Linked DNA regions of Homo sapiens: region 2 is linked to region 1. Evidence: promoter capture Hi-C in 16 types of primary human blood cells and fetal thymus (Javierre and others, 2016). All regions are on one chromosome and are shown on one strand. The core of a region is centred on a gene start or on the middle of the fragment in contact, and the rest is flanking DNA. Distances in the headings are between cores, read along the strand shown. Region 1 holds the start of INAFM1 (InaF motif containing 1). Region 2 holds the start of PRKD2 (protein kinase D2).

Evidence for each region. Contacts are between HindIII fragments. The CHiCAGO score rates a contact against its expected background, and 5 or more counts as called.
Region 2: a contact is called between the fragment with the promoter of PRKD2 here and the fragment with the promoter of INAFM1 in region 1, in 4 of 17 cell types (fetal thymus, total CD8 T cells, neutrophils and 1 more). The highest score is 7.3, in fetal thymus.

The regions. Positions count from the first base shown.
Region 1 is chr19:47,272,884-47,277,255 of GRCh38, forward strand. It overlaps INAFM1 (InaF motif containing 1), which reads left to right and starts at 2,002. Exons shown (of 1, transcript NM_178511.6): 1 at 2,002-2,840. The coding sequence starts at 2,037. The coding sequence ends at 2,465. It also overlaps a transcript of CCDC9 not described here. RefSeq lists silencers at 384-693, 1,304-1,563, 1,924-2,373. The HindIII fragment of the contact is 4,952 bases long and covers 1,124-4,372 here.
Region 2 is chr19:46,714,364-46,718,837 of GRCh38, forward strand. PRKD2 (protein kinase D2) reads right to left here and starts at 2,751. Exons shown (of 18, transcript NM_016457.5): 1 at 1,768-2,751. The coding sequence starts at 2,007. LOC107987269 reads right to left here. Exons shown (of 4, transcript XM_017027568.2): 1 at 4,283-4,474; 2 at 3,990-4,139; 3 at 3,436-3,613; 4 at 2,171-2,814. The coding sequence ends at 2,448. RefSeq lists enhancers at 186-485, 3,997-4,046 and silencers at 2,647-2,696, 2,717-2,876. The HindIII fragment of the contact is 18,729 bases long and covers 584-4,474 here.

The DNA.
Region 1 (4,372 bases), core at 752-3,251:
TCAGATGGCCTCCCCTTCCCCCAGAGTGGGATTAGGATTTTGGGGGCAGAGCCAAGGAAGGACTGGTTAGAATAGCAGGCGTTGGCGAAGGAAAGGGGAGGGCGGGTCCTCTAGGACTGGCTTGGTGGAGGTTGATGAAGGCCGTGAGATGGGGCGGGGGTGGGAGAGGACAGTTTGCAGCCTTGGGTGGCGCGGGGGCCCAGACCCTCTGTCTTGGGCCACTTGTTGGTCGGGAGCCAGATCTCGCCACACCCGCGTTTCCTCGATTGTAAACGGTTATGTTGGGAGTGTTTGCTGCTGCGTGGGTCCGCTGAGAGGATTAGTCTGGGCCCCGTAAACCGCTTAGCGCCGAGCCTGCTGTGGCAAGGGCTCGAACTGGATGAGAGACGTGGCTAGACGGGGGAGGGGTGCTGGGCCGGGGGGGAGGTGGGAAGACTGCTCCCCTCCGCTGACTCAGCCCCTTCTCTCCTCAGAGGCAGGCCCCGAAGGCCAGGAGACGGCGGAGATCACCGACTTCCAGAGGGTGCGTTTCTGCAAGGTGGTGGCGGCCCCTCCGCTGCCGGGGGCCGCTCGCTGACCGCGCCCGCCGGACCGCGGCCTCCGCGCTCTGCACTAACCTCCCACCGCCTCGCTCCTCTGTCCTCTGCTTCTGCCACACTCCAGCCAGGAGAGGGTTAAATCTAAGGGGGGAGGAGCCAGGGTCTGCGAGCCGGGCGGGGCCAGGGCAGTAGTCGGGTGCAGGCCCCACCAACGGGGGACGTCACGGCACTGGGACGGCTGGGACGCTTCCGCGTTAGTCTCCCATGGAGGCCCTGGGCGGCTCGAGCCAGTCTTCAGGCCGAATCTCCCGCCTCCAGGATTGCATCCGAGGCCTGGCAGCCGGTGACACTTCCGAAGGGCTTGAATTACTCGGGCGCCAGCCCTGTCGTATTAAACGCAGTGCTTCCGCTCACCCTTGAACTGTGTTTCTGGAGGGGGCAGGCTGGGTCGCTGTGCTTGGCGGGCTTTTCTGTGGCGGAAGAGGCGGAAGGAAGGGGTCTTCCTCCACCCTTCTGATCCGTCTTCCCTCCCCCCTCCCGCAGGCCTCCCCGAATTCCTGAAGACGCTGCTGGGAGGGGACTGAAGCTTCCCCGCCTTGATGGGGAGGGGGCGTGAGGAGGGGTTTATCTGGATTTCCAGGCTGTGTTCTTTCTACCCCAGAGCCTAGTCTGGACCCCTTGGCTCTAGGGAGAGGGAAAAGCTGACCGTTGGGGAGGAGCTGGGAGAAGGGGCGCGATTGCGGTGAGGGGCGGAGCTGGAACCTCGGGGCCTGAGGTGCTGAGGATACCTGAAAGCGGGCTGAGAGTGTGCTGGAGGAGGCGGGTCCCGCGGGGGCGGAGCTAGGCTGCCTGGGCGGGGCCGGAATCCTGACAGGCGGAGTTAGAGCGGGGGGCGGGGTCAGCGCGCGCGGGTGGGGCTCTGGCCATGGGCATGGGGCGGGGCCGTCAGCGGGGGCGTGGTCGGGGTGTCGCGCGGGAACCCGCGCGGGAGGAGAGCGGGGATTCCGGAACTAGAGTGTGGGAGCCAGAGGCCGTAGCGGGCAGGGCTCGAGCACTGGAGTAGAGCAGTCCGACAGGTAGAGAAGTGAGACTGGCTGCGGCACAGGGCGGGTTAGGGCTCCAGGCAGGGCTTGAGCGGGACGAGGGGGCGGGCTCCGAGGCGGGCTAGATGCCTGGGCTGGATGAAGTCCGAGTCTGGGAAGAGAACCGTGTTGTGGCGGGAGGAGGCGGTGATTGGGGTGGTGGGGCTAAGCGCGGGGGCGGGGCTGGAGCGAGGGGGGCGGGGTAGCACCTCCGCCTGTCGGTGGTGGGGCGGAGGCTGGAGGGGGTGGGCCTAGGATGCGGAGGCGGCAGCTCGCGTGGGGGCGTGACCATGCTGGCGGGGGCGGGGCCGGAGGCGGGCGGTTTAGAGAGCGGGGCGGTCTGCGGGGTGGGGGCGGGGCCTGGTGGGGGCGGGGCCTGTGCGGTCTGCGGCGCGGAGCCGAGTGGGCTGCGGGGATGCGGGGGACCAGCTGCGTGGGCGGCGGCGCCGAGAGCCCCGGAGGCGCGGGGCTGAGCGAGGGCCCGCGGGGGCGCTGGCTGCGCTTGGCTCCGGTATGCGCCTACTTCCTCTGCGTCTCGCTAGCTGCCGTGCTGCTCGCCGTGTACTACGGTCTCATCTGGGTACCCACGCGGTCTCCCGCGGCACCCGCCGGCCCACAGCCCAGCGCGCCGTCCCCTCCGTGTGCTGCCCGCCCGGGCGTGCCGCCTGTCCCGGCGCCCGCCGCTGCCTCCCTCTCCTGCCTCCTGGGAGTCCCCGGCGGGCCGCGACCCCAGCTCCAGCTGCCGCTGAGCCGCCGCCGCCGCTACAGCGACCCTGACCGCCGTCCGAGCCGCCAGACACCCAGAGAGACGCCAGAGGCCGCGGAGGGGCGAAGACCCGGGTAACTCTCCCTTCCACCCCAACCCGGATCGCCAGCCCTCGAGAGCTCTGTGCTCCACGCCGAGGATGCACCGTCTCTGGATTGGTCCGGCCTTCTTCCTAATGACATCGCTCAGCGTCTCTGGAGCCGTCATCCCGCGGAATGGGGGCCCAGGGGGTGTCAGCTCGGGGCCTTGCCTCTTGCAGCTACTCTGTGGTCAGGCCGGGTCCTCCACCATCAGGAAGATCCCATCCTGAGCTCTGTCTCCTGCCCCTCCTGCTGTGGGATGCTGAGCACAGAGCCCACAGCCCATCTGCCTCTTCACCTCCCTGAATCCGTGTCCATCTGCAATAAACGACAGCCTCGGCTGCCTCGTGCTGTGTCTGTCCTGTTGTCTGCAGAGATGCCTCCCCTCCCAAGTTTGTGTGGGAAAGACCTTCCTGGGGTGTGGCCTTTGTCTGTTTTGTCCCGGGTGGGCTGTTCCCCTTCCTTAAGGAGCTCTTCTTTTCTTGGAGTAGGGAGAAGCAGCTTAGCAGCAGCAGGGCCTTTGAAGGTCAGACAGTGGGAAGGGCTTCCCAGTTTTTTGTGTGCTTGGAGCAAAGGACAAATGTCTCTGGGGAGAAGCAGAGTGTCTGCCCTCGTGTTACAGCACAGGAGACAAGAGGAGGGGTGGGGTGATATAGGACAATAGCTGGGGTTCTGGGAATTGCTGTTGGTGTAATTATCATGTCAGGGACAGAGGCTGAATCACCCAGGGATCTCAGTTGGCTGCCGAGAGGGAACGATGCTGGCCCACTTCCTGGGGTCAGAGAGATGAGAGTGGATGGCGGCGGCGGTGGTGTTGCTTCTCAGCCTGTCTGGAAATCTCAGAGCCAATGACCAAAGCGCTGTGCTGCCTTGGAAGACTGGTGCAGCCTCTGGCCTGGGGCGCTGCTAGGAAACCAAGGCCGGGAAACTGAGGTCTAGCTTCTGGGCAAGGAGTCCGAGGTGGGGAGGCCATGTTCCATCCTGGAAGACTGAGGCCTGGCTCTGGACAGGGCCTGGGATCTGACATGCAGGAAGCTGGTTCCTGTCCAGCCTCCCCGCTTGAGCTGGAGGCCTTCCCAGGAGAGTGAGGCTGAGCATCTTCTCCCACGCTGTGGCTCCTGGAGATCTGTGGAGGTGGTTAGGAAGGTCAGCTGCTCTGCTCACCTCCCCTTTACCCCACCACCACTCCCCAGAGGGTGGTTGTGAAGGGGAATCTAGGAAGCCAGCACTTCTTTGTAGTCAGCATAGGTGATAGTTAGGGGCACTGACTGGGGCGAGACTACTCGGGTTCAAATTCCAGCTCCTCTCATTACAAACTGTGTGACTTTGGGCAGGTCACTTGACCTCTGTGTTTCTTTTTTTTTTTTTTTGAGATGGAGTCTTGCACTGTTGCCCAGGCTGGAGTGCAGTGGCATGATCTTGCTCACTGCAACCTCCGCCTTCTGGTTCAGGTGAGTCTCCTGCCTCAACCTCCTGAGTAGCTGGGATTACAGGTGCCCACCACCACACCCAGCTAATTTTTTTTTTGTATTTTTATTTTTTATTATTTTTATTTTGAGAGAAGTCTCACTCTTGTCCCCCACGCTTGAGTGCAATGGCTCGATCTCTGCTCACTGCAACCTCCACCTCCCAGGTTCAAACAATTCTCCTGTCTCTGCCTCTCAAGTAGCTGGGATTAAGGCCCCTGCCACCACGCCTGGCTAATTTTTGTATTTTTTAGTAGAGACGCGGTTTCACCATGTTGGCCAGGCTGGTCTCGAACTCCTGACCTCGTGATTTGCCCACTTGGGCCTCCCAAAATTCTGGGATTACAGGCATGAGCCACCACACCCGGCCTCTGTTTCTTTTTTTTTTTTTTCTTTTGAGACGGAGTCTTGCTCTGTCGCTCAGGCTGGAGTGCAGTGG
Region 2 (4,474 bases), core at 1,501-4,000, 560 kb before region 1:
GCCCCCCAGCTTCCTTCCTGGATCTGTCTATTGTTGTCCCAGTTACCTGGCTCCAGGCCCAGCACTGGGGTGGGGCGAGCTGGAAGGAGGACTTTTCGGGGCTCCTGGGAAAGTGGGGGGGGGGGCCGGGGGACTTGGACTCGAGGGCGCTGGAGATAAGGAGGGCGCCTGCCACCCAATGCTCAAAGGACCCAGGTGTCTGGGTCCTCAGCTTTGGGGGCCTGGGGGCAGGAAATGAAACCTAGTAGAACAGAAAGTGAAACTGCCCCGGTGGGGCCTCGGGAAGGAAGGTAAGCGGCCCTAACACACCTGGACCTGGCAGAAAAATAAAACTGGGGTGAAGCCTGAGCGGGGCAGGCTGGGGACTTGAGCACTGGACAAAGAAGTTCACCCAAGGGACAATCTGCCCCCGTACCCCCACTGCCACCAGCTTCCCATGAAGTGGGCTGAGTTGGGGTGGTGAGCTGGGCCTGCGGGATTGAGGCATTTGGTGGGCAAAACCCTATCAGTTCTCACTGCTAAGAGAGAGTCCACAGAAGACCAGGACTGCCTTGGCCCTGACCCCTTGGGAAGTTTTTCTCTAAGCTTCAGTTTCCTTGTCTGTAGAATGGGGGAGCTGGCCCAGTTCCCCACGTTTCTCTGATGCCCAAAGGATTCATTTCCAGGAGTCTGAAAAGATTCTGGAATTTGGATATTTTGGGACTCCAACATGCTCACATTATAGAATTATACATTCTAGATTCCTACCTGGTATCACTATACATTTTAGGATTTCAATAACCTAAATAAGCGGTAATCTAATATTTTAATATTCTAGGAGTCTGACAAGCTAGGACTGTGCTCTTTGAATTCTTTAGCATTCAAGGACCTCATCCATCCAGCATTCTAAAATTCTAACATTTTAACTTTCTAGGATTCAACAATCTAGGAATCTAATATTCCAGCATTTTAATGTTTTACTATTTCACAAACCTAGAATTCTAATATTTGAACACGAACATGGGGGCAATTTAATTGCCTAGGATGCATATTCCAACAAGTTATGATTCTAATATTCTAACATTTCTACAGTCCAGTACTCCAACACAGAAGCCCACTATTCTTTTAACATTTCACGGTTTAGACGTGGAGTTCCACCTGGTTTCCTCTTGCCATAACACCCAGCTGCCCACCCTGGGGACCCTGGTGTCCAAAATTAAGAGTAGGCTAACAGCACTGTGACTAGGAAAGGGAATAGAGTCCCCAGGGTCTGTAGGAGTGCCTGCCCCTCCACACATATCTCAGGCTTAGGGGAGGGCAGAATTGGGCTCCGAGACCTCACTTGCCCCTGGCAGCTAACTCAAGCACCTGCACCCACACATGTCACCGGATCACCATGGCCAGCCCGGGTTCAATTTCTCCTGTTTCCACCAAATGGGAGGCCCGGGATGGGCCTGGACGTGGAGGTCCGCCGACATCTGCTGCCCCTTCCTCCCCTCTCTACACCTGGCTGGCCCCTCCCTTCCTCCCTGTTTGCTGCAGAAAACAACGACATGCAGGGACATGAAATTTGGGGAGGCCTCTGGGGCACCCCACCCCTGCCCAGTCCTCTCTCAAAGGGATGGTGGGGAGAGGGGCAATGGAGGGGGGCAATGCCCCCTATCCCTCCATCACCCAAAGCTCAGGTCTCCTTCCTCCCTCTTCCGCACACCAGGCCCCAGACCCCTCTGCCAGCGCCCCCTCCTTCAACCTCTCCCCGAGCTGGATCCAGGGAGCCTGCGCCCTCACCTTCTGGTCCACGATGGAACAGGCCAGCTGCTTCACATGAGCCAGCTCGGAGGCGGCGGGCAACAGCACGAACTCGCGGGTCAGCCCGATCTGGATGTGAAAGGAGACCCCGGAACCCGGGGCCGGGATCTGGGGCAGTAGCGGTGGCGGCGACTGCAGCTCTAGGCCGCCGGGGGGCGGAGGAGACCCCGGCCCGGGAGAGCCAGGGAGCCCGGCGGGATAAGAGGGGGCGGTGGCCATGGGGGGAGGCCGGGGACCGGCCGCCTGGAGCCCACCCGGGACCCGGCCGGGGGGCCCCGGGGGACCCTGGGTTCTAGATCCGCGGGATCTCGTGAGCAGGTGGTGGGAGAGCGGGGATCCGAGAAAAGATCTGGCAGGCGGAGGGGACCTGAGGATGGCGGGGTCCTGGGAAGGAGAGAAAGGCACTATAGTGGGTCAGAGGCCCGGAATCCAGGGCTCCCAGAAGATCAGAAAGGAGAAAAGTAGTGGGTTGGAGGTCCCAGCGATTGAGATTCCAAGAAGCCTGAGAGGAAATCTAGTAGGTCGGGGTCACAGGGATCAGGAGAGCCCGCGATTCAAAGGCCCCTTCCCTAGAGGAGGGATTGAGAAGGGGGCAGAGGGAATCCCAGGATCCAGTGCTCCAAGAAGAGGATCCCACTCAGAAGGCGGCCCGGGGGAATTCACCTTGGGGGTGGAGGGCAGGAGTCTCTGAGTCGGGGACCGAGTGGATTCCAGAGATAAAGGGGTTCGCAGGGACCCGACCGGCCAGGGGATGGGCAGAGGGGTCCCGAGGGCCGGAGTGGGTAGAAGGGAATCTCACGAGTCGCAGAAGTTGGAGAAAAGTTCGGTCGGGAGCCGTGAGGAAGGGGGCGTTGCCGGAGCGGGGTTGGGTGGGGGGCAGGGAGGGTCGCCAGGCGCCAGTAGCTCTTTTTCCCCCTCCAAAGTTTAAGTCGGCGGCGGCGGCGGCGGCCCAGGAGGAAGTGTCCGGAGCGACAGTGCAGTCGACCAATCGGCGCGGGCCTCGGCGACGTCAGAGAGGGGCGGAGCCTGCCGAGGGGCCGGGGGCGGAAGGGGAGGGTGGGCCCGGGGCCTCCGAGTTGGGGGCTGGACCTCCGCCTCCAGGGTCCGGGACAAGGGATGGTGTGAGGGATGGAGGGCAGGCAGGCGAGACCAGTTCCTTCCCTGAACACAGCCAAGCCTGGAAAGTTAACTTTTCCCTCGGCTGGACAGGGAGGGGAAACACTATCACCCACCGCCGGTCGCAGGCGTCGGGCTTGGAGGCCACTGGCCCTTTAAGGAGGGGAGCCCTCTCCGGCAGGCGTCCGGCGCCCATGGCAGGGGACGGGTGGGAAATCGGTATCAGGTCCCGGCCCGCTCTCTGGGTTCGGCCTCTCTGTTCTCCGAGCGTCACCCCTGCCCTCCCCGCCGCGTCCCAGCCCAGGGAAGGGGGTGCTGCAGAGCGTCCCCCGGCCCCAGCCCATTTAACACATGGAAAGACCGAGGCCTCCAGATGGGTAGGAAGGGGCTCGCCTTAGGTCTGTCTCCAGCGATGGTGGGCAAGGTGCATGGCGCTAACTGGATGGGTGGGGAGGGTCCATCCCCCCGCCCACCCCAACCCCGCCTTAGGATAGTGTGGGGCTGCCCCGAGGGAGGACAGCACACCCATACCACTTCATAGATGCAGAGTGTGTCTCCTGGGGATGTGGAGTACGTGTGCGTGTCTTTCTCTCCATGTGACTTTGGGTGAGTGGCTTCTCTGTGAGCCTCAGTCCCTCCATCTGTTGGGACTGTAATAGGACTGACCCCACATGGGATGGTGGGAGCCGATGCCATGGTATACTGGTGCCTGGAAACGCAGCAGTTCAGTAAGAGGTGGTTGTCTCTGATAATACGCGGAAAGGGGTGGCCACCTCCAGCACTCAGGCTTTGATGGGTGGGCACACCCATTCAGTCACCCAGCAAGTATCTGTGAGGACCTACTGGGTGCTGGGTGGGCCCTGCTGTAAAACTCCAGCCGCTACAGGGGTCAGGCTTGATCTCTCCTCCCCAGCTAATAATCAAATAGTGGCTACCATTTAGTTTACACAGAATAAGCTGAAGCCTCAGAGAAGCAAAACGTCTTGCCCAAGATCCCAGAGTGAAGTTGCTTGAGGGAAGCTGCCCCACCCACCCCTTTGATTGACAAGTCAAGGCCTAGGTTTGAGCTCTAAGAGAAGGGCCACCTGTCTGGCTGGGATGCTGGCAGGACTGGAAATGGCAGGGCTGGCTGAGGATGGGGGCTGCCAGAAGAGCCCCTCTTCCTGGTGTACGGCCGTTGGGGGTAGCTGAGGTCGGTACAGTATCGATTCTGTCACCACATCCGGGGGCTGGGGCTGAGGAAGGAAGTCTGAGGCTGGAGTGAAAACCCAAACCACCACCTGGGGAACTGCATTGAGCCCAGAGGGATGGGCAGGGAGCACACCACGTGGAGCCCACGAAGGCTCCCCTTGGCGTCATCTAAGGGCCTCCTGCCCACCTGCACCCTTTTTCCTGAAGGGCAGATGACTGTCCCAGCAAAACGCTGCCATGTCCTGAGTGTCCAGACAGCGGCCTCCATCCTTTCTCGTATGTTCACTGGGGCCTGCTGGGGGACTGGGGCACAGCCCTTTACAACCCAGGAACTGGGCATTAGTGCCCTGTGGCAGAGGTGCTAGGATTACCGAGGACG